4 separate regions of the Homo sapiens genome follow, and regions 1, 3 and 4 are each linked to region 2. Evidence: promoter capture Hi-C in 16 types of primary human blood cells and fetal thymus (Javierre and others, 2016). All regions are on one chromosome and are shown on one strand. Each heading gives the region's core, a stretch centred on a gene start or on the middle of the fragment in contact. The rest is flanking DNA. Distances are from core to core; before and after follow the strand shown. Region 1 has its middle 140 kb from the start of MIR3194. Region 2 holds the start of BCAS4 (breast carcinoma amplified sequence 4). Region 3 overlaps ATP9A (ATPase phospholipid transporting 9A (putative)). Region 4 has its middle 130 kb from the start of MIR3194.

Region 1 (5,580 bases), core at 949-3,448, 510 kb after region 2:
AATTTTTGCATTTTTAGTAGAGACGGGGTTTCACCATGTTGGCCAGGCTGGTCTCGATCTCTTGACCTCGTGATCTGCCTGCCTTGGCCTCCCAAAGTGCTGGGATTACAGGTGTGAGCCACCATGCCCAGCCCCAAAATTTCTTCATGTGGGGACTTAAGGAGTCCGTGGATGTAGTTTAGACATCCCTGAAATTGGAAACAAAATGCTGCATTCATGTCTGTACATTTCCTTGGGTAAAGGCCTAGAGCAGCTGTCAGAGGGCAAAGGTATGGGAACCCCAAGAAGGTGAAGAGCCCCACTGCCCATTTTAATGTCATTATTGTGTTTATTCTCTCATAGACTCTCAGAGAGAGCCGGATGGAATTGATTAGAAAGTGCTTGTCACAAAAGCCTGTCTGAGCCCTAATTGACTTGTGACGAGCTTACATTTTGCATAAATCAGCTTTTGTTTAGCTCTTGGGTTTGACACCTAATGAGAGTCTCTCAGAGGCTGAGGAAAGCCAAAGCCATCCCATATTTTTAAAAAAGTTTAAGGCAAAAAGGGATGTCAGAATTGTGGTAAAATATAAGTGTTTATGTTTAACAAAGTAATGCTTTTTGCATAAGATTCAATGATGATACATCTAAGTTTGTTTATAGATAATGTCAAAAGTCTAAACTGGAGGATTCTGTGAATAAATGGCCCGGGCCAAATTATCCTTCTGCCATAAAAGGTGCCAGGTAGCTGGATGATGTCAACCCAGGTGTTGGCTTCAGAGATGACAAAACACCCCACCCCCTTTCTAATTCCCAGAGAAGCAGACAGAGCCCAGGTCACCCCTTCCCTCGCCACCCCGCCCCAACCCCCACCAGAAGCAGGTGCCTCAGGGTAGTGGGGAAGTACCCAAGGCAGGGGCCAGGTCCAGGGGAGGGAAGAAGGAGCATAAGATAACCTCCCTTGCACCTCCCCAGGTTTAATTCACCTTACTCTGGCCTCAGAGTTTGGTTTGAGGCTAAATCCCCAGGAATCCAACCCACATTCAAAGGGATACACCAAAGCTCATTCCAGGAAACAGAAAAACTGATTTCAAGTTTCCAGCTGTTTGGGCAATCAAGGAAATAATCAGGGCTTTGGATTTGGTTTCTGTTTCTCTCTTTGGCTGTGTGACTTTGGGTTAACCTCTCTGACCTTCAGATTCTTCGCTACCTTTCTAGGTAGCTGTAGCAATCAGTGAGGTTCATTCTGCCTGCACTGAGCGGGGCTGAGTGCTGGGGAGCTGCCTGGTGCTTGGGAAGACAGAACGTTCTGTTAACTCTCATACACACACACAAACCACTCACAAAGGCATGTGGGGACAGAGCAGACTTTACTGAAGGTTTGGATCAGTAACCAAAGACATCTTACAATTGAAAGCTGCATCTCCCTCATCTTCAAAAGCCTCCCGGCTATGTTCACCATCTGGCTCCAGCCCCTTGTCCTATTGTCCAGCTCATCTTTCTTTCCTCCCCTCCTCATCCCCTCTCCTCTCCCATCCTCTCTTTGCAGTGTTCCCTCTTCAAAATTCCTCTTTACTTCTAGCAAAGAGCAGTTCAGCACTCTTTTGGTGGCCTGACTCCCAGGGTTACTGCTAACAGCTGTGCAAATGTAAACCCAGGTTGTACCAATTACATCATGGTCCATAGCAGGGGGCCACAAATTGCAACCCACCGCCAAATATGGCCCACTGCCTGTTTTTGCAAATAAAGTTTTATTGCAACACAGCCACACCCATTCACTCACTCATTGTATATGGCCCCTGACGCTATACAACTCCAGAGCTGAATAGTTGTGACAGAGACCATATGGTCCATAGACTTAAAATATTGACTCTCTGTCCATTTATAATTCAACATTTTAATGAACTGCCTGGAATCTGTGAGAGACTAGTTAGAGAGACTGGTTAAGGGTCACTGTCTGCATTTCTTCCAGTAACATAAAGCCGATCTAGCTCCTGCTAGGACCAGGCTATCAGCCTGGCTCTGGAGACAGATTGATGCCCAGGAACTTCTGCCTGCCCTCAAGAAGCTTGAGATCAAGTCGGTGAGAACACTGTGCCATGTTTAAGTGGCACAGAAAAGGGATGAGGTCAACCCCAGGAGGGCTGACCCCTGCAGGCCTCTGAGCCAGCTGGGTTTGGCCATGGGAGGCAGAATTCGGAGGGCAGGAGAGAGGCTGGGGTGTTTCTCCCCCTCTCTTTCTGCCTCAAGAAGCACCTCTGCAGCTGCCTGGGCCCAGAATTGCCCAGCGTTTCACAAAAAGCTACAAATATGGATTTTGTATGAATTCTTCCTATTTGTAAATGTTAGCATTGGTGATTCAAATATTATTCAAGCTTTTTTAGCTCCATGGGCTTATGGTTTGTGGCTTTTGTACAGTAGTCATTGATACTGTCCCCAGTTTAAAATTCCTATGAGTCTGATACAACCCCTGTGGAGAGCAAAACTGTACATACCCACATCATATGATACACCAGTTCCACCCCTACGTATCTTTACTCCAGACAATCTCCCATTCCAGCATGCTGGAGCCATACTCAAGGAGACTCATAACAGCATCTGTGTGTAACAGAGAAATATTAGGAACCATTAAAGTGTCCATCAATGGGAGAGTGGAGAAATGCCTTGTGACATATTTGCAGCAAAAACAACTACAGCTTCATTGATGTACATGGATGTGGAGTTCTCATTAGGGAGGAGGAGTCAGGCTGGTGGGACAAAGGGAAAGCAAAAAGAGAAAGCAGATAAGCTGTAAGTCTGCCTTTCCAGGACACAATGCAGGACCATGGACCTCTTGCACAATATAACTCACAGTCTTCCTGTGCCCAGCTATTACCAGACTCTTGGCTGATAGAAAAATGCAAGTTAGCTCCCTGCAACCTTGGTGTTATCAGTACAGCACGTAGCCCTCTCCAGCCCAAGAACCAGCGTATAAAATCTCCAGCAAGCTTTGTCCCTTTGCAGTCAGCTCCCCTCTTGCTGACCTGCCCATTGCTTCCTTGCAGCGCTTTCTCGAGTAAATCTGCCTTTCTTTACCTACAGCTATCTTGGTACATTCTTTTCACCACCTATATGACACCAACCCCAGAGAGTCGCAACCCACGACAATGGACAAACCTCAGAACATCATTTTAGAATGAGAAAAGCATAGTATCTTACTTATATAAAGTTTTAAGCATGAAAGCAAAAGTGTCTGTTGCACAGGGATATATGTGCATATGTTCTATAAATGTAAAGGCAAATATGGGAATAACAAGCATTGTATTTAGGATTATGAAACCTCTGGGATGAGAGAGAGAAGAATGGAGTGGGCAGGTTATTCACAGGGACCAATTTTATCTGCCATGCTTTGTTTCCTAAAAAAATCAACCATGGGCACATGAGGGGCTCCCTAGGGTAACAGATGATTTCTTAATCTGGAGGCTGGTTCCAATTTGGGAAAATTCATTGAGCCAATCATTTATGATACGTATAGTTCTCTGCACATGTGTAATTTTTCTTTTTTCTTTTTTTGAGACAGATTCTTGCTCTGTCACCCAGGCTGGAGTGCAGTGGTATGCTCATAGCTCACAGCAGCCTCCAACTCCTGGGCTCAGGTGATCCTCCCTCCTCAGCCTCCTGAGTAGCTGGAACTACAGGCCCACATCACCATGCCTGGCTATTAAAAAAAAAAAACTGTCTGTAGATACAGGCTTTCACTATGTTGCCCAGGCTGGTGTTGAACTTCTGGCCTCAAGCAATCATCTTGCCTCAGTCTCCCAAAGTTTTGGGGTTACAGGCATGAGCCACTGCATGTGGCCTGACTTTTCAATACAAATCTATTGATATAATTTGGATATTTGTCCCTGCTCCAATCTCATGTCAAATTGTAATCCCTAATGCTGGAGGTGGGGCCTGGTGGGAAGTATTTGGGTCATGGAGGTGGATTCCTAATAGCTTGGTGCTGTCTTTGCAATAGTGAGTGTCAATGAAGAGTGTCAAACTCTGCGAAATATCCGAAGAGTTTATCCTGAGCCAAGTATGAAGGACCAGTGGCCCTATGACACAGCCCCAGGAAATCCTGAGAATATGTGCCCGAGGTAGTCAGGATACAAAATGATTTTATACATTTTTGGGAGACATGTCAATCAATGCATGTAAGATACATGTTGGTTTCGTCTGGCAAGGCGGGACAATTGGATAACTGGAGGAGGCGGGGTTCCAGGTCATAGGCGGAGTCGAAGACTTTCTGACTGGCAATTGGCTTAAAGAGTTATTATTTAAAGACCTGGAATCACAGACGGAATGGTTAAGATAATAGGTTGTAGAGACCCAGGTTTTATCATGCAGATGAAGCCTCCCAAAGCAGGCTTCACAGAGAATAGATTGTAAATGTTTATCAGACTTCAAGTCTGTTCTATCTGTCTTAAGATCTCTGTTTTAATGTTAATGTTGGTCAACTGTGCTTGAATTCCAAAGGGAGGGGGAGGAGGGTATAAGGAGGCATGTCTGACTTTCACTTCCCATGATAACCCGAACTCGTCTTTCCAGTTAATTTTAGAATGCTCTTGGCCAAGGGGAGGGTTTATCAGCAGGTTGTGCGGCTTAGAATTTTATTTTTGCTTTACATGCGTGATCTGGTCATTTAAAAGTGTGTGGCACCTCCTCTCCCTCTCTCTCTTCTTATAAATTACCTAGTCTCAGGTATTTCTGTAGAGCAATGCAAGAATGCCCTAATACATGTGTTGTAGGGGGAAAAAAAAAAAAGGGTTCTTGTCACATGACCAGGAAAGATTAGGCCTGCAGACACTTTGAAGGGTGAGGGGAAATGGAATTTATTAGGCGAAAAGGAAAAATAAATCTCAGTAAAGCAGGAGAGAGTCCTGCTAGAAGGCTTCCCACCTCATAGTTTGAATCCCAGTTTACTATCCAGGAACAGGAGAGGCCAGGTTCCTTTCCCTTGCAAACGGCACAAACTTCTTGAGACTCCACCCCATCCTCCCAGTGCTCAGGCAGGTCAGAGATTCTCCAGGACCTGCAGTCCGGGTTTTTCAGCCTTCAGGCCATTTTAGGCTTGAAGGCGGAGTTTTGTGGGGGGACCCTTGGCTGTCTCCTGTCTCTATGACATGTATTAAATAACTTCAGTCATAAAACAAATTTGAACCAAGCTGGGTAGTAGATGTCAGCCTTTCTGGTACACAGGTTGAGCATCCCGAATCTGAAATCTGAAACGCAAAATGCTCCAAAACTCAAAATGGTGTGAGTGTTGATGCTGTACTCGAAGGAAGTGCTACAGTGAACATTTCAAGTGTTCAGATTTGGGATGCTCAGCTGCTCAGTGTAATACAAGTATCCCCAAATCTGAAAAACTCTGAAATCTGAAACACTTCTGGTCCCAATCATGTTGGATAAAGGATACTCACCCTGCATTATCCTCTGCTCTTTATTGTAGGCTTAAAATACTCAATAATGAAATCCAATGAATCTACAAATGCTCGGCAGTGGCCTGGCTGCAAAGTGAGACCACTAAAGGTTTATTGTTCACAGTGACCTGGCCGCATATCTAGACAGTTGCTTTATGAT
Region 2 (5,290 bases), core at 2,202-4,701:
AGGCGTGTGCCACCACTCCTGTCTAACTTTTGTATATTTTGTAGATACAGGAGTTTCGCCCTGTTGGCCAGGCTGGCCTCAAACTCCTGGCCTCATGTGATCCGACCGCCTCGGCCTCCCACTCCCAAAGTGCTGGGATTACAGGCGTGAGCCACCATGCCAGCCTGGCTTTTTTTTTTTTTTTTTAAATGAGTCATTTTAGACATTCATACAGTTTTGGTATTGCTACAAACATCAGCCGAAGAAATAAAACATTCCGAATATTGAAATCCCTCTCAGCCGAACACCTGACGTCAGGAGTTCAAGACCAGCCTGGCCAACATGGCAAAACCCCGTCTCTCCTAAAAACACAAAAATTAGTCAGGCGTAGCTGGGTGCGGTGGCTCATGCCTGTAATCCCAGCACTTTGGGAGGCTGAGGCGGGCAGATCACCTGAGGTCGGGAGTTCGAGACCGGCCTGGCCAACATGGTGAAACCCCGTCTCTACTAAAAATGCAAAAATTAGCCAGGCGTGGTGGTGGGCACCTGTAATTCCAGCTACTTGGGAGGCTGAGGCAGGAGAATCACTTGAACCCTGGAGAAGGAGGTTGCAGTGAGCCGAGATTGCGCCACTGCACACCAGCCCGGGCTACAGAGACTCCGTCTCAAAAAAAAAAAAAATATTAGGCGTAGTGGCATGTGCTTGTAATCCCAGCTACTTAGGAGGCTGAGGCAGGAGGATCACTTGAACCTGGAAGGTAGAGGTTGCAGTGAGCTGAGATCGTGCCACTGCACTCCAGCCTGGGCGACAGAGCGAGACTCTGTCTCAAAAAATATATATATATTAAATCCCTCTTGGGCTGGGTGCAGTGCCTCACTCCTGTAATCCCAGCACTTTGGGAGGCCGAGACTGGTGGGTCACTTGAAACCAGGAATTGGAGACTGGCCTGGCCAACATGTTGAAACCCTGTCTCTACTAAAAATACAAAAATTAGCCAGGCTTGGTGGTGCTTGTTCCTGTAATCCCAGCTACTGGGGAGGCTGAGGTAGGAGAATCGCTTGAACCCGGGAGGCAGAGCTTGCAGTGAGCCGAGATTGTGCCACTGCACTCCAGCCTGGGCAACAAAGCAAGACTCTGTCAAAAAACAAAAAAAAGAAAGAAAGAAAGAAAAGAAAAAGAAATCCCTCCCTCCCATACCCCTCTCCAGTTTCTTCTCCCCCGCCCTAAAGTAACCACTTTTGGAACATGGGGTACGTCGTTCCCATGCACAGCTTTGTACTTTTGCTCCATCTGTCGGTGTCCATAAACAATATACAGTGTGGTTCTGCGTGTTTTAAAAACTGTGCTAATGGCACAGTGCCCTACAGAGCCTTCTGCAACACGACTTTTCTTCCTTAGCTTTATGTTTCTGAGATTTATCCACCAGGAGAAGTTTGCTGTGCTCAGGTCAATTTGGTGATCTGAGGCCAGTCCTGGGCTCTTTGTGGGAGATGCCTAGCCAGCAGGCAAGGGCAAGGGTCTGAGACCGGCTCCCAGGGGATGGCGAGGAGGGCTCAGAGCATCAGGGAAATCATGACAATGACGAATGGCCGAGTGTGGGCTCAGTGAGTTCCTATAAAACCCTTAAGCACTTGAGGCCCAAGTCTTTGCCAAGAATTTTCCAGAAAATGACTGGCCTGAAGGCCTGGATATTTGGATAGGGAGAAATTAGCAGTGGACAGATTTGGAAGTGGGAATTGTGCAGTGATGGACTACACAAAAGGCAGGTCAAACATGTGTTGTTTAGGCCCCTACCTAGGGTGGCCAACTACAATATAAATTCAGATTTAATGGAGAGGAAGGTGTGGGACGTCCTATATATTTATTTGCACCCTTGATACCAGCCCCTCCTTTTTAAAAAACAACAACAACAACAAAAGACAGAGTTTCACTGTGTCACACAGGCTGGAGTGCAGTGGTGCGATCATAACTCGCGGTAGCCTTGAACTCCTGGCCTCAAACAATCCTCCTGCATCTGCCTCTCCAGTAGCTAGGACTACAGTTGTGCCCCACCACATCCTGCAATTTTAATTTTTTTTTTTCTTTTAGAGAGATGGAGTCTCCTTATGTTTGCCCAAGCAGCTCAGCCTTTTTTTTTTTTTTTTTTTGTGAGGCGATTTAACATTTAAAGAAAAGTCAGCAGGCAGGGGGCGCTGGCCCACGCCTGTAATCCTAGCACTTTGGGAGGCCGAGGCAGGTGGCTCACCTGAGGTCAGGAGTTCGAGAGCAGCCTGGCCAACATGGCGAAACCCCGTCTCTACTAAAAAATACAAAAATTAGAATTAGTCGGGCGTGGTGACAGGCGCCTGTAATCCCAGCTACTCGGGAGGCTGAGGGAGGGGGAGAATTGCTTGAACCCGGAATGTGGAAGTTACAGTGAGCCGAAATCGCACCACTGCACTCCAGCCTGGGCGACAGAGCGAGACTCCGTCTCCAAAAAAAAAAAATTAATTAATTAAAAATAAAAATAAGTCATCAAACGAAAAATCAAAACTTCAGACTTGTCTTATACCTATTTGCCTTTTAGTACTTTCCTCATTAGCACTGTTGGGGTGGGAGATGAGGCGCACCTCGCTCTCTTCAGCCCCAAGGCTTGTAAAGGGTCTATCTAGGCCGGCCTCCGAGGGCATGGAGGGAGTGGGTGCGGTTGTGAAATGTAGTGCGCTCAATAGTTTCCTGGTGAAGTTTATTTTAAAATCCGCACCGAAGAGGAAGACGAGGACCGTCACACTCGGCCTTCCCTAAATTCCAGGACCCTCCGCCCGATGCAAACTAGATGCTTTAGTAGGATGGGAACGGGTGGGGGGCGGGCGGCTTTGGGCTTCCTCTAAGCTAGCGCCTCTCTAACCCGGACGCCCGTTAGAATCACCCGGGGAGTTTTAGAAACTACCGATGCCCAAGCCCCACTCCGAAGGATTCCAACTTAATCGGCCTGGTGCGAGGCCTGGCTTCCGGGCTTTTAAAAGCTTCCCGGGGATTCTATTTTACGGCCGGGTCCGGGGCCGGGAGCCTGTACTCTACCGGGATTCCGATGGGGAGGGGTGGCTTGCCCCAATAGTTCTCAAATTTAGCTTTGGGTCAACAATCTGGTTGGAACCACCTAACAAACATCAAAAGATCCTGATGCCCAGGTCTTAACCCAGAGACGGTGTGGTCCAGGCTTGGGAAATTCTAAAAGAGCTCCAGGTGACTGCCATCTGCAAGCGAGTTTGCAAAGCACTGATGCCCAGGTGCTGCGGGGGCGGGCGCAGCGCGCGCCGCTCGCCACTGGGTGGCGCTGCCCGCTCGGCCCGGCGCTCCTGGAGCTGCGAGCCGCGACCGCCGGGAGCGCACCTGCCCCGCCTCCGCCAGGCGGTCCGCGGGGCATGCAGCGGACCGGGGGCGGGGCTCCGAGGCCCGGGCGCAACCACGGGCTCCCAGGCAGCCTCCGCCAGCCGGACCCCGTCGCCCTCCTGATGCTGCTCGTGGACGCTGATCAGCCGGAGCCCATGCGCAGCGGGGCGCGCGAGCTCGCGCTCTTCCTGACCCCCGAGCCTGGGGCCGAGGTAGGGGACGGGGCTGTGGAGTTGGAGGAGAGGGTTCTCGCGGTTAGGGGTCCGGGCTCCGGACCCTCGGCTTCCCCGGAGCATCCTCTCGCTCCCGGAGTGGGGGGCCCGGGGATTCCCCCCTTCCTGAAGGGTGGCTGCGGGGCGCCACGCAGAGATGTGCAGCGGGTCGTCCCTGCTCGCTCCTCCGGGCGACACCGGGCCCCGGAGGCCCAGGCTCGCTTTCCCTCCCCACCCGGGTCCCCCAGCATCCGCCGGGTCCTCAGGCGCCGCCCTTTGCCAGGCCGGCCCTGGGAGAGGCGGACCCCGGGACCTCTGCTGCCCCGGCTACCTCCGAGCGGTGCCCGGGCCGAGCGGCGCCTCAGGCTGCGGCTGTGCGGGCCGCGCTGCGCTGCTGCAGCTCGGAGCGAAAACACCACGCCTCTGTCTGCGCTTTCTATTTTAAAAGCACCAAGTGAAAAGCAGATCTAAAACGAGACCCTCTACCTTCCGGCTGGAGGCATCTGTCGACGCTGTTGTGAAAAAGTTATTTGTCTGAGTTCACTAGGAGTTATTTACGGTCAGAAATTCAACCCATTCTCTTTTTAAACCACAAAAGCAGTACAGGAGTATTTAACATAAAGGCTATGCACCCCTTTCTCTTTTCTCTCCCACCCCAATTCTAGTTTTCTTAGAAAACCAGCATTAACTGTTTGGTATAAATCATTCCGGACATTTAAAATGCATTTACAAATGTAGATATCTGTATCTGCCTAGGCAGAGTATTGGCTCATGCCAGTGGTCCCAGCATTCTGGGAGGCTGAGGCAGGAGGATTGCTTGGGATGGGGATAGGGGACGGGGAAGAGTGAGGCTGCAGTGAGGCTTGATCATGCCACTGCACTCCAGCCTGGGCGACAGAGTGAGACATTTAAAAAAAAATCTATCTCGCCAGGCCTGGTGGCTCACGCTTGTAATCCCAGCACTACTGGGAGGCCGAGACGGGTGGATCACCTGAGGTCAGGAGCTCGAGACCAGCCTGACCAACATGGTGAAACCCCGTCTCTACTAAAAATACAAAAATTAGCCGGGTGTGTAATCCCAGCTACTTGGGAGGCTGAGGCAGGAGGATCGCTTGAACCTGGGAGGCGGAGGCTGCAGTGAGCTGAGATCAGCCATTGCATTCCAGCCTGGGCAACAAGAGCAAAACTCCCTCTCAAAAAAAAAAACCATAAAATATCTTTCCATATATATATATATACATATATATGAGTTTTCTCTTTTTTCTTTTTCTTTTTCTCCATATATATATATATATATATATATATATATATATATTTTTTTTTTTTTTTTTTTTTTTTTTGAGATGGAGTCTTGCTCTGTCACCAGGCTGGAGTGCATTGGCATGATCTCAGCTCACTGCAACCTCCGCCTCCCAGGTTCAAGGAATTCTCCTGCCTCAGCCTCCCGAGTAGCTGGGACTACAGGCGTGTGCCACCATGCTCAGCTAATTTTTGTATTTTTCAGTAGAGACGGGGTTTCACCATGTTGGCCAGGATGATCTCTATCTCTTGACCTCGTGATCCACCCTCCTCGGCCTCCCAAAGTGTTGGGATTACAGGCGTAAGCCACAGCGCCCAGCCATCTCCACATATTTTTAAAATAATTTTTGAACAGACGTTTTTAATTTTTTTTTTTTTGACAGGGTTTCACTTTGTCACCCAGGCTGGAGTGCAGTGACACAATCAT
Region 3 (5,228 bases), core at 1,271-3,770, 800 kb after region 2:
CATGGTGAAACCCCGTCTCTACTAAAGATACAAAACTTAACCGGGCGTGGTGGCAGGCCCAGCTACTCAGAAGGCTGAGGCAGGAGAATCGCCTGAACCTGGGAGGCGGAGGTTGCAGTGAGCCAAGATTGCACCACTGCATTGCAGCCTAGATAACAGGGCAAGACTCCACCTCGAAAAAAAATAATTAGGGTTTCTCAATGTTGGCACTTTTGACACTTTGGGCTCTGTTGTGGGGGCCACCCTGTGAATCACAGGGTGTTCGGCAGCATCTCTTGCTTGTAGCACTCCTCTTCCCCGAGTTGTAACAACTGAAAAGGTCTTCATACCGCCACGTGTCCCCCAAGGGACAAAAATCACCCAATTGATTTCAACTACTTCCTACACAAAAGCTTTTTTTGTTTTGTTTTGTTTTGAGACGGAGTCTTGCTCTGTTGCCCAGGCAGGAGTGCAGTGGCACAATCACGACTCACTGCAGCCTCGACCTCCGAGGCTCAGGTGATTGTTCCGCCTCAGCTTCCCAAGTCGCTGGGACCACAGGCTTGAGCCAGTACACCCAGCTCGTTTTCTTGTATTTTTTGTACATGAGTTTCACCACGTTACCCAGGCTGGTCTCAAACTCTGGGCTCAAGCAATCCTCCTGCCTTGGTCTCCCAAAGCTGGGATTACAGACATGAGCCACTGCGCCGGGCCTTAAAAATTTTTTCTGCCTAAAACTTAACTGACTGTTCCTATATGTTCCATCCCTCGATAAAAAAAAAAAAAAAAGATTCCAGTCATCGAGGACCGTGTATAGAAATACAATATGAAGCTTATGGTTTTCATCTTATTTTCCATTTATATCTATCACCTTTTGAAATTCTGACACGTCTGGGATGGACAATAGTACAAAATAATAAATAACATGCATTGATTTGGGGTTTTTTTTGCCAAAATCAAAATAATTTTCTGAACTGGAAAGAGTTTTCTTTACATTTCATGTACCATGAAATAAAGAAAAAATAGGAGCGTTATAATAAAAAGTCCTCATTTTGATACCAGAATTCATGTTTCTGTACAAATTAAAATAATCCCCCAAGGCAGAACGTACACAAGCTTTATTGGGCAACAGCAACGAGCCACGCTGGCAAACAATGAAAGTAGAGTCGCTCAGAAACACGAAAGATCATATGTGTGTCATCACAGCATCGAGAATTTAAATCATCTGGAAGTTCCTGCTAAATTAAAGCATACTGTGCCAGAGCTCCCCTCTAATCAAAAAACGCTGTCCTGGTGAAAATTTGCAATGAGGATTACAGAGAGAGAGATCAACCAATGAGGAAATCACAGACTCTTACATGAGTTTACAGTTAACCCCACTGCAACAAAATAATAAATTAGCCATAATTTGTTTTTTTTGCAAATACCATGCCCCCCACCTGACCCCACAAACACAACAGTCACTGACATGGCCCAGCTATATTAACAGACTGCGCCTCAAACCATGCTGTGGCGGAGAAGACAGATTCACGGGTAATGCCGCTTTGGCCTGAGAAGATGCTTCGGAGCTCCAGGTGGAGGAGCTGCTCACGCTGCAGGATGCTTTGCAGGTTCATTCAAAACCAAATTTTTTTCCAAGAAGAACTGGACATAATTCATGGGAATATTTTAAGTATATATAAGTGGCAAAAAAGCTGTACATTAAAAGAAGGGGGAGAAATAAAATGTGTTGTATTTACAAAGCTCTTTGTATATTTTTTTAAATGAAAACAAAGCTGGGAGTGATAGAATTTTAATGCAATGAAAACCAAATAATTCTTCAAAAAACTTTAGATGACATCATTCTCTCGCTCTTTCACACACACACACACCCCCCACACACTTCAAACATACAGAAAAGGTTAAAGATAAAAATAGCTGATAGGTGTTTAAGTAGGATGGAGCAGAAGAATGTACATGTCCCATTTGCAATTTTGGCAAAGGTTTAAAATGCTGCCCTAAAGGCACGCACGCATGCCCAGCCTACCCCAGTAAAAACAAGACAAAGTATAAAAAGAAAAGTCTGGCGGGGGGTGGGGGAGGCATTAGCATATCAATTTCCAATGAGCACAAAATTCAAAATACATTAAAAAGTAGCATGGCTTACATTTTCAGCAGAGAAGAAACTGAGGAAATGTTCATAAAGAGACAATGATTTTTAAGATTTACTGTCACAAAAAAAAAAGGGTTTCACTTCAGGGGAGTGGAACTGGGATGGGAATTTTACAATGCTAGTTCCAGCACGTGGTCTAATGGCCCCAGGGGCTGGAAAAGGGAGGTCTGCTCCAACTTTAAGATGCGCCCTTGGGATGCCTTCCAAGCAGCTGGAGTTAGTGCCACCTGTCTCACCTGGCACCACAGGCAACACACATGTGCACACGCATGCTTTCAAAATGAGGATCAAAACTGTCCCACATAAGAAATTACTCAAGATGGAAAAACTAGTCTGGTGATTTTCTTAGAGAAAAAAAAAGAGAGACAAAAAGGAAGGGGTGGGGGGAGGGGAAGAAACCAAATAGATCCTGCTTCCCCCTGTCACACAACCATCATCAAAAGACATATGAACAATAATAAAATAGTAATAGAAGTTCTTACTCTGGCAGAAATAGCTAGTGTTGTCAGAGGGCGCAGGGAGCTGTGAGTTTTGCTTTCAGGAAAAGTGTTCAAACAGTGCTGACTGTGTACCTCAAGGCCCTCTGACCTCAAATTAAATTGGCTGTCAAAGACTTACGGCCCATGGAGCTCCCAGGTGACAGTGTCAATGGCGCTTTATGTAAGTTCTTTCCAGATTGATGAACCAAGAAAAAGGTCAACTGAATCCTTATGCTTAAGGTTTACAAACTCAGGAGAGTTTCTTGTATAGTAACTCTAGTTTCTTGTTTGCTTATTTCTTTGTCTTCCCCACCACAACTAAGATGACCTCCGAGAAGTACCCAGGCGCCCCTGGGGTTCTCTGCTGGGCTTACAGTCTGATTGTGCAGGTAAAGATCGTGTCCTCTCACCGGACTGCATCCTCCTGCCTTTGCGTCTCCAGTGTCTGAGAAGCACGGTGTGTGCATTCCTAGGTGTTCAGGGACCGTCCAGTGAATGGCGTCAGCCAGCTGCCCACTGATGGGATGGGCCAACGACGTGGCAGTTTGCACTTGAGTGTCGGTACTTCTCACCCTTGACCGCCTCCGCCCCAGTGCGGCTGAGACAACAGAGTAAAAAGGTTTGTGGAGAACACTGACGAGTACCTTCCACTTCCAACTATGGCTTCTTCAGCCCCTCCTGGGAGCATTCTCCCTTGAAGATGTCAATCAGTATCTTAAGCGTTGGCTTTAAAAGTCAACTTGTGCACCTCAATCAAAATTGAGAATTAAGGAAAAGGCCAGGGAGACCATCTTCATTCTGCTTCTGCTGGAAACCTCTAAAACTTTCTGACGAGGCTCCCACACGCCCTGCCTGCAGGAGCCAGCATCCCGAATCTCCGAGCAAAGCCAGGTACAGGGTTTGCAAAGTCTAAACAGGACTATCTTAAGACTTCCCAGCGTTACAGAGCCAGGTTCAGCATCTGCAAAGTCTAAATGGGACTATCTTAAGACTTGCCAGTGTTACAGACTGATTTCCAAGAAAACGGAGGCTTAAAAACTTCCAGCACAAATTTCTCCTCCACCTTTGAAAACACAGAAACTCACTCAATGAATACGTCAGATTTGCTCAATCTTTCTGAAATTTTTGGACAAAGATCCTATCCTTAACTATTCACTCAATACATCTTTTCTGCCGACCTTTTCCCTCTGGCAGAAATGGCTGAATCAGATAGAGAAAAGTACTGCAAAACTGCAGAATCATAAGACAAAATAGATGTGGTGTCAACAGCCAATTAACCAGTACCTGCAACGTAAAGTCATTCTAGAACATTTTAAAAGGACAACACAAAATACAAAAGCTTATCAAGAGTGCTCCAAAGGCAAGGGACTATCTGATCCTCGTGTCTCCAGCTCTCCAAGAGCAGGAGTTAGTAGGCATCAGAAACCAGGCTGTGATGTACATCTCTGAAGCACACAGAAGTAGCGCCAGGCAGAGGGTTTGAAGGATATGTATTCATCAAGAAGTAAACGCAAATCCAAGATCTCAACCACACTTGGCTCTTAAAGATCCACCAACTTAACCCTTATGGCATGCATATGTGGCTTCTGCAAGAAGCAACTTGAAAACCCAAGAATGCCTTGCTCTACCACGTCCCGCGACTGCAAACTCCCTTCCTCTGAAACAAGCAGCCACAGCTTTATAAGAAACATGCCGGCATGTAGTCCATCCTGGGAGGGGAGAAATCTTCACCACTGGCTGCCTTTCAGCAAGTTCCCCTTGAAATCTGCCGGCAGTGGAACAGATCCCAGATCCCAACGCTGTAGCTTGGGCGTCCTCCCACCAGGGGTTCCTTGTTCTGAAAGCTGCCACCAGTGTTGTTCCGAAAGATGCCTCTGCCTTTGTGGGGTCATCTTCCATTATGCCTCCTAACAGGAAACAGGCTTCTATGGAAGAGAAGAGTCCCAGCCCCCTGACCTTTCCGCTTTGGTCTTGGAGGATCTGAGTCACATCTGCCATGTTGCCTAAAGAATTAGTTGAGTCTCTTATCACACTGTCGACACATTTAGGGGCCATTCAGTGGCACGTTTCCTGCTAAAACAACTCTGCTGAAAATGTCTGAGGTCCTTCTCAAACAGCCACTGGCTTTGTGATTGTTACCAGGTCCCAATAAAGCGGGATCACACCTCTGAAATTCTTTTACGAGGTGGCAGGTGAAGTTAACTCACACACTATGGATGCTGAATCAGATCAAGGATAACAGATTGGACTTAGGACACTCTCTCTCCCTCTCCTCTCATTTACTGGTTACGATCCCAGGAATCCAGTGTAACCTGGATAAGCAGGGCTGGCTGGAGACGATACTGAGCATTTCCGAATGGAGATTATTGTGTGGATAACTTTTTACCAAATGTCACTGTCTTTTCCTCCCAAACCGACACCAAGAGCTTTCTATTTTTCTGACACCTCTTTGTAAGAGCAAGAAAGACATAAAGAGTACATACACATTAGGACTCTTTAAAAACACACACACACACACACACACACACACACACACACACAAGCCTTCTACAACCTTCAGCTACACAGAAACTTTTATCATGTGACAACAAAATTCAAGTCATAAGGAAGCTCGCACA
Region 4 (5,156 bases), core at 364-2,863, 530 kb after region 2:
AACAGTTAAAACTATCTCACAGTATCTGTGGGGCAGGAATCCAGGCACAGCTTAGCTGGGTCCTCTCCTTCAGTGTCTCTTCCAAGGCTGCGATCAAGGTCTTAACCAGGGCTAGGATCTCATCTGAAGGCTCAACTGGTGTCGGCTCCATTTCCAAGTTCACACATGTGGTTGTTGGGAGGATTCTGTCATGTGTGGGCTCTTCGATTCAGGGCCTCAGCTCCTCACTGGCTGTTGGATGGAGAACTCCGTCAGTTCATTGCCACACCGGCTCCCCGCTCGCCACAGGGCAGATTTCAGCATGAGCTGACTATTGACCATGTGAGCCTTCCAACCTGGCAGGCTGCTTCCTCACAGCTGGCGAGGGAGAGGGTCTGCTAGCAAGATGGAAGCCCAACTATTCTGTAATCTAATCACAGATGTGGCATTCCCCCAATATTGAGGTATGCTGTTGGTTTGATGGAAATTACCCAAGGAGAAGGGATTACCTGAGGGCATGAATATAAGAAAGTGAAGATCACAGAGACCATCTCAGAAGCTGCCTGAACCACCAGGGAAGAAGCTATGAGGTGTGAACAAAGACCCAGCGACATTGGATCCAGGTTATCTTCTTTAGGTATCTGCACCTGTCCACGCCTCTCCTTGCAATAAATCTTCTTTGTTTAGGAATGAAATGGTCTTTCTTAGTTAATGCGAACAGGGGACATTTCTTGAGGGTGGTTGTAAAAGAACTCCTGTAACCTGACCAAAGCACGTCTCTCACCAGAAAGACCTAGCTGCTGGGGATGGGGTTGGGGGAGCTGCATCCGTTTGCATGTGGAGCCAGGTTCTCTAGGGAAGGAAGGAACTGAGATATCCATCATTGCTCCCCATGACCTGAAGTTGGGAAAAGCCATCAGAGTGGACTCTGGGGCTCTCACCTAACATCTACTGGAGAAAGACAGGAAACCCACGTGGCTGGGGACGGATCCAGAACAAGAAATCATCAAGAGGGTGGGAGCACCTGGCCAAAGCTTGAGCGCCTTAATGAGGTTCACAGGGGACTGCTTCTAACAGGGCTACTGGCTGAGCTGGAATCTTGTCAGGCCCCAGCAGTCCCAGCGTTGTGTTGGGGAGCAGTGGATCTTGAGCTCAGAGGACAGCCTGTGCTTAACAGTGACCCCTGGTGGCCATGAGACCTGATGGCTTTAGTGTAGGTTTCTGTTGTTTGGAAATAGGACTGATCCTCTTTGGACCATGTAAATCCCAGGATTCTTGGATAATGGGAGTGGTGAGAAAGTGAGGTGCTCAAGAGGAAGTATTAGACTTCCTGCTGCTGAAGGTGTAAGGGGCTCAATTTATTCAAGAAAATGTGAAAGCAATAGGGAGGATGCTTCAGTGGTCCCAAAGGTTATGGAATAAACCAGAAGTCCATAAACTTTTACTAAAGGGCTGCATAATAAATATGTGAGGCTTTGTGGGCCATACATCCCTGTCTCAGCTAATGAACTTGGCTGTTGTAGCATGAAAGCAGTATAGACAATAAGTAAGAGAGTGACCATGGTTGTGTTCCAATACAGCTTTATTTACCAAAACAGCCAGTTGTGGGTCATAGTTTTCTGACCTCCTGGGGTAAACAGTTGAGGCTAGTCTTTCCACCTTTGTAAAAGAGAAGATTTTGTGAATGTTTCTGGTTCTGTGAAATGTTCTTTCTTCCTTTGGATAAATGGAAGTTCACAGACCTCCATTTGTTCATTGCTGTTTCTTTATTTTATTTTATTTTATTATTTTATTTTGAGACAAGATCTCACTCTGTCACCCAGGCTGGTGTGCAGAGGCTTGATCATGGCTCACTGCAACCTTGACCTCCCAGGCTCCAGCGATCCTCCCACCTCAGCCTCCCAAATAGGTGAGACTACAGGCGCACACCACCATGCCTGGCTGATTTTTAAAAGTTTTGTAGAGATAGGGTCTTGCTGTGTTGCCCAGGCTGGTCATGAACTCCCAGGCTCAAGTGATCCTCCCACCTCGGCACTCCCAAAGTGCTGAGATTAGGGGCCTGAGCCACCGTGCCTGACCGCATTTCTTCCTTTGTATAAATGGAGAGGTATTTATGAATTATTGTATTCTCCTTTAGGCCAATGGAAACTCAGTCATGGATTTGCTTCATTGTTTTTTCTTCTTTTGTGAGTTACACTCAGTCATTCTAATGCATATATGTATACACACACGTACAAGCTTAGGAATGTACTATTTGTGGTTGTAAAAATGAAGCTGCTCATCTTCTGCTCTGAGAGTCTGGAAAAGTTTATAAATATCAAATAGTATCTGCTGGCATTGTCCAGCAAGACACATCACTTCCTATCGTGTGGGCGCGTCCCTCCAGTCTAGCCGTGTGCCTACGACACAGAGCTCTAGTTGGCATCAGGATTTTCCACTAGACAGTCCGCGTTCCCCAGCGGCCAGCTCGGAGGCGTTCCCGCCCTCAAAGCCACAGCCAAGTCCAGGGCCTCAGGGACAGGTCTGGGGAAAATCTATCAAGTGATTTGGGAGAACCAAGGCGTCTGGGTCGAAGGCAGGGGGATTCCCTCCCACCCTGGCCTCTCTGCTCCTTTCCAGACAGACCTGCCAGGCATTGCCAAGGTGCTTTTTAAAATCTTCAAACAGAGTTTTAACCATGATGTGTGGCAGACATAGGTATCCCTCACATACTCATAGGTATTTGCTTTAAATATTTGAAAACAATGGAGGAATGAAGACAGGCTTGAGTTATTATATATTAAAGTACACGAAATGAGATTCAGGCTTAAATTGTTGTATCAGGGTTTGACCACAGCAGAATCAACTGGAGGGATTTATCGTAGAGATTTACCTTATGCAACTTGGGGAGCTGGTTCACCAGTCTACATGGGGCTGCTTCTTTGAATTTGACGCTGGATCCTCAAGTCAGCAGGGCAGCCACCAAGAAGGAAGGATGGATGGGAAGTGGGAGGGAGTGACGACAAACTGGAGCCACCAGGACAAGCTGGAACCCGGGATGACAGACTGGAAACCCCCCGTCCATCTCTTGCCACCTCCAAGCAGCCATCTGTGATTACTCACTCAGGTGATCTGCAGGAAAAGGTGGCATTCTTCATCCCGGAACTAAACAGGCCTCTGCCAGGATTCAGAGACACTAAGGAGGATCCACAGGGACTGGAAGCTGCAGGCTTAGCTGCTGCCCACACCAACCAGGCGAGCCCACAGAAGGGTGTCCACGTGGGTGCACTGCAGCCGCGTGCTCCATGCCCACCTTCCAAGCATGGCAGCAGTCTACCTGCCACTTCGCTTCCCCCTCCCGGGTCTCACTCAAAATGTCTTTTGGTCTATGCTAACCAGAAACAATGCAGGGAAGGGAATTCTGAGAATTCCAACTTAGCTGAGTTGACATGATCCAAATCCACCACAATTATTACATTAAAAGGCAAATGGCAGTAAGTGAATTGACTAGGGCTTTTATTAGAAATATTACTCCCACTGTCAGTTTAAATGTAGATATTTAAAACGTCCCTAAGCAAAAAGTTACCACATAGTAGGAAAGGCTCCGAGGTCACAAAACCTAGATCCAAATTACTAGCTGGGTGGCCTAGGACAAGTTGCTTAACCTCTCTGAGATTGCATAGCTTCACTTGTAAAAAGAGGATTAAGAGCACCTACTGCATACAGCTGATACATATAAGATTTAGCACAGTGGCCGCACACAGTAGGTGCTCAATAAACGAAACAGCAATTCATCAAGGCACATAACAACAGCACAACACATTGTGTGGCACTATTTTCAGAATGTATCAATCCATTTGAGTCTTTCACTAACTTGTGAACTCCATGAAGTCAAGAGTTATGAGTAAATGAGTGATGTGAATTAATGAATTTACTATATTCCTGGGTACTAGGCAGAGTGGGTGTGATCACGCCTGCTTAAGTATAACAAACTAAACTTTATTGATTTAAGTGCCAAGCCAGGGTTAGGTGCCTGATCTTCTCATGCCCACACCAACCAGGTGAGCCCGCAGAAGGGTGTCCACGTGGGTGCACTGCAGCCGCGTGCTCTGTGCCCACCTTCAAATCCATTGTCCTTTCCAACACAAACTGCCACATCTCTCCCGCATACCAGAACATTCTGGGACTACTATGAAGAAGTGGCTTTGTGTACAGAAGCTGCTCCCTCTTCTTTCATTTCCCCTGATGTTGTAGCAAATGCTTGGAGTTCTTCATAGAACCACTGTTGAAGAGGTTGTGCTCTGTCTGTCTTCAGAGAGACCTGCATGTGCTGCTTTCACTGGTTAAGTTTCACCTTGTCTGGTTCATTCATTCAACAAACTAGATTAAGAATCTATTAGGTACTCAGCATTGTTCTAGAAGCTGAGGATATAGCAGTGAACAAAACAGACATAGCCCTATTCCCATGAAACTTATATTCTGGTTGGCTGTGGGAGTGAGCTTCCAAGAGAGCCCCAGGGATCCCTGCCTCCTGGTACTCACAACCATACTGAATAGGGATGACTTGTGTCACCCAATATGGATAGCTGGATGGCTGGATGGGTGGGTCGGTGGGTGGATGGATATATAGACAGATGAATAGATAGATGATAGACAGATGATAAGTAGATAGATAAATGATAGGTAGATGATGGATGGATAGATAGATAGATAAATAAATGACAGATGGGTAGACAGATGATAGACAGATGGTAGATAGATAATAGACAGATGATAAATAGATGATAGACAGATGATAGGTAGATAGATGATAGGTAGATAATAGGTAGATGGTGGATAGATGTATAGACAGATGGATAAATGGATGGATCGATGGATGGATTGATTAGATAGATGATAAATAGATAGATAGACAGATAGTAGATAATAGACAGATAATAAATAAATGACAGATGATAGGTCAGTTGGTAGATAGATGATAGGTAGATAGTAGATAGATGGTGGATAGATGTATAGACGGATGGATAGATAGATTGATTGATTAGATAGATGATAGATAGATGATGGCATGGCAGTGACTTCTGCAGCAAGATCATATACACAACGTGCTTTCCACCTTGCTCTCTCTCGAGGACATGTATTGAATGCCAGGTACTATACCAATATGTTACATTGTTTTGTCACATTTAATCTTCATG

The links. The method cuts DNA at HindIII sites, captures the fragments that hold promoters and counts their contacts. A CHiCAGO score of 5 or more calls a contact.
Region 1: a contact is called between a fragment that was not itself captured here and the fragment with the promoter of BCAS4 in region 2, in 13 of 17 cell types (total CD8 T cells, total CD4 T cells, naive CD8 T cells and 10 more). The highest score is 14.5, in total CD8 T cells.
Region 3: a contact is called between a fragment that was not itself captured here and the fragment with the promoter of BCAS4 in region 2, in 1 of 17 cell types (naive B cells). The highest score is 5.4, in naive B cells.
Region 4: a contact is called between a fragment that was not itself captured here and the fragment with the promoter of BCAS4 in region 2, in 2 of 17 cell types (endothelial precursors and total CD4 T cells). The highest score is 8.3, in endothelial precursors.

What each region holds. Positions count from the first base shown.
Region 1 is chr20:51,307,597-51,313,176 of GRCh38, forward strand. No RefSeq gene overlaps it. Among named protein-coding and RNA genes, the nearest start is that of MIR3194, 140 kb to the right of the region's middle. RefSeq lists enhancers at 3,328-4,317, 4,318-5,306. The HindIII fragment of the contact is 307 bases long and covers 2,046-2,352 here.
Region 2 is chr20:50,791,610-50,796,899 of GRCh38, forward strand. It overlaps BCAS4 (breast carcinoma amplified sequence 4), which reads left to right and starts at 3,452. Exons shown (of 5, transcript NM_198799.4): 1 at 3,452-3,564. The coding sequence starts at 3,475. RefSeq lists a silencer at 3,185-4,004. The HindIII fragment of the contact is 4,840 bases long and covers 2,984-5,290 here.
Region 3 is chr20:51,595,696-51,600,923 of GRCh38, forward strand. It overlaps ATP9A (ATPase phospholipid transporting 9A (putative)), which reads right to left. Exons shown (of 28, transcript NM_006045.3): 28 at 819-5,228. Among named protein-coding and RNA genes, the nearest start is that of NFATC2, 56 kb to the left of the region's middle. The HindIII fragment of the contact is 2,854 bases long and covers 1,094-3,947 here.
Region 4 is chr20:51,325,270-51,330,425 of GRCh38, forward strand. No RefSeq gene overlaps it. Among named protein-coding and RNA genes, the nearest start is that of MIR3194, 130 kb to the right of the region's middle. RefSeq lists an enhancer at 2,809-3,687. The HindIII fragment of the contact is 1,204 bases long and covers 1,012-2,215 here.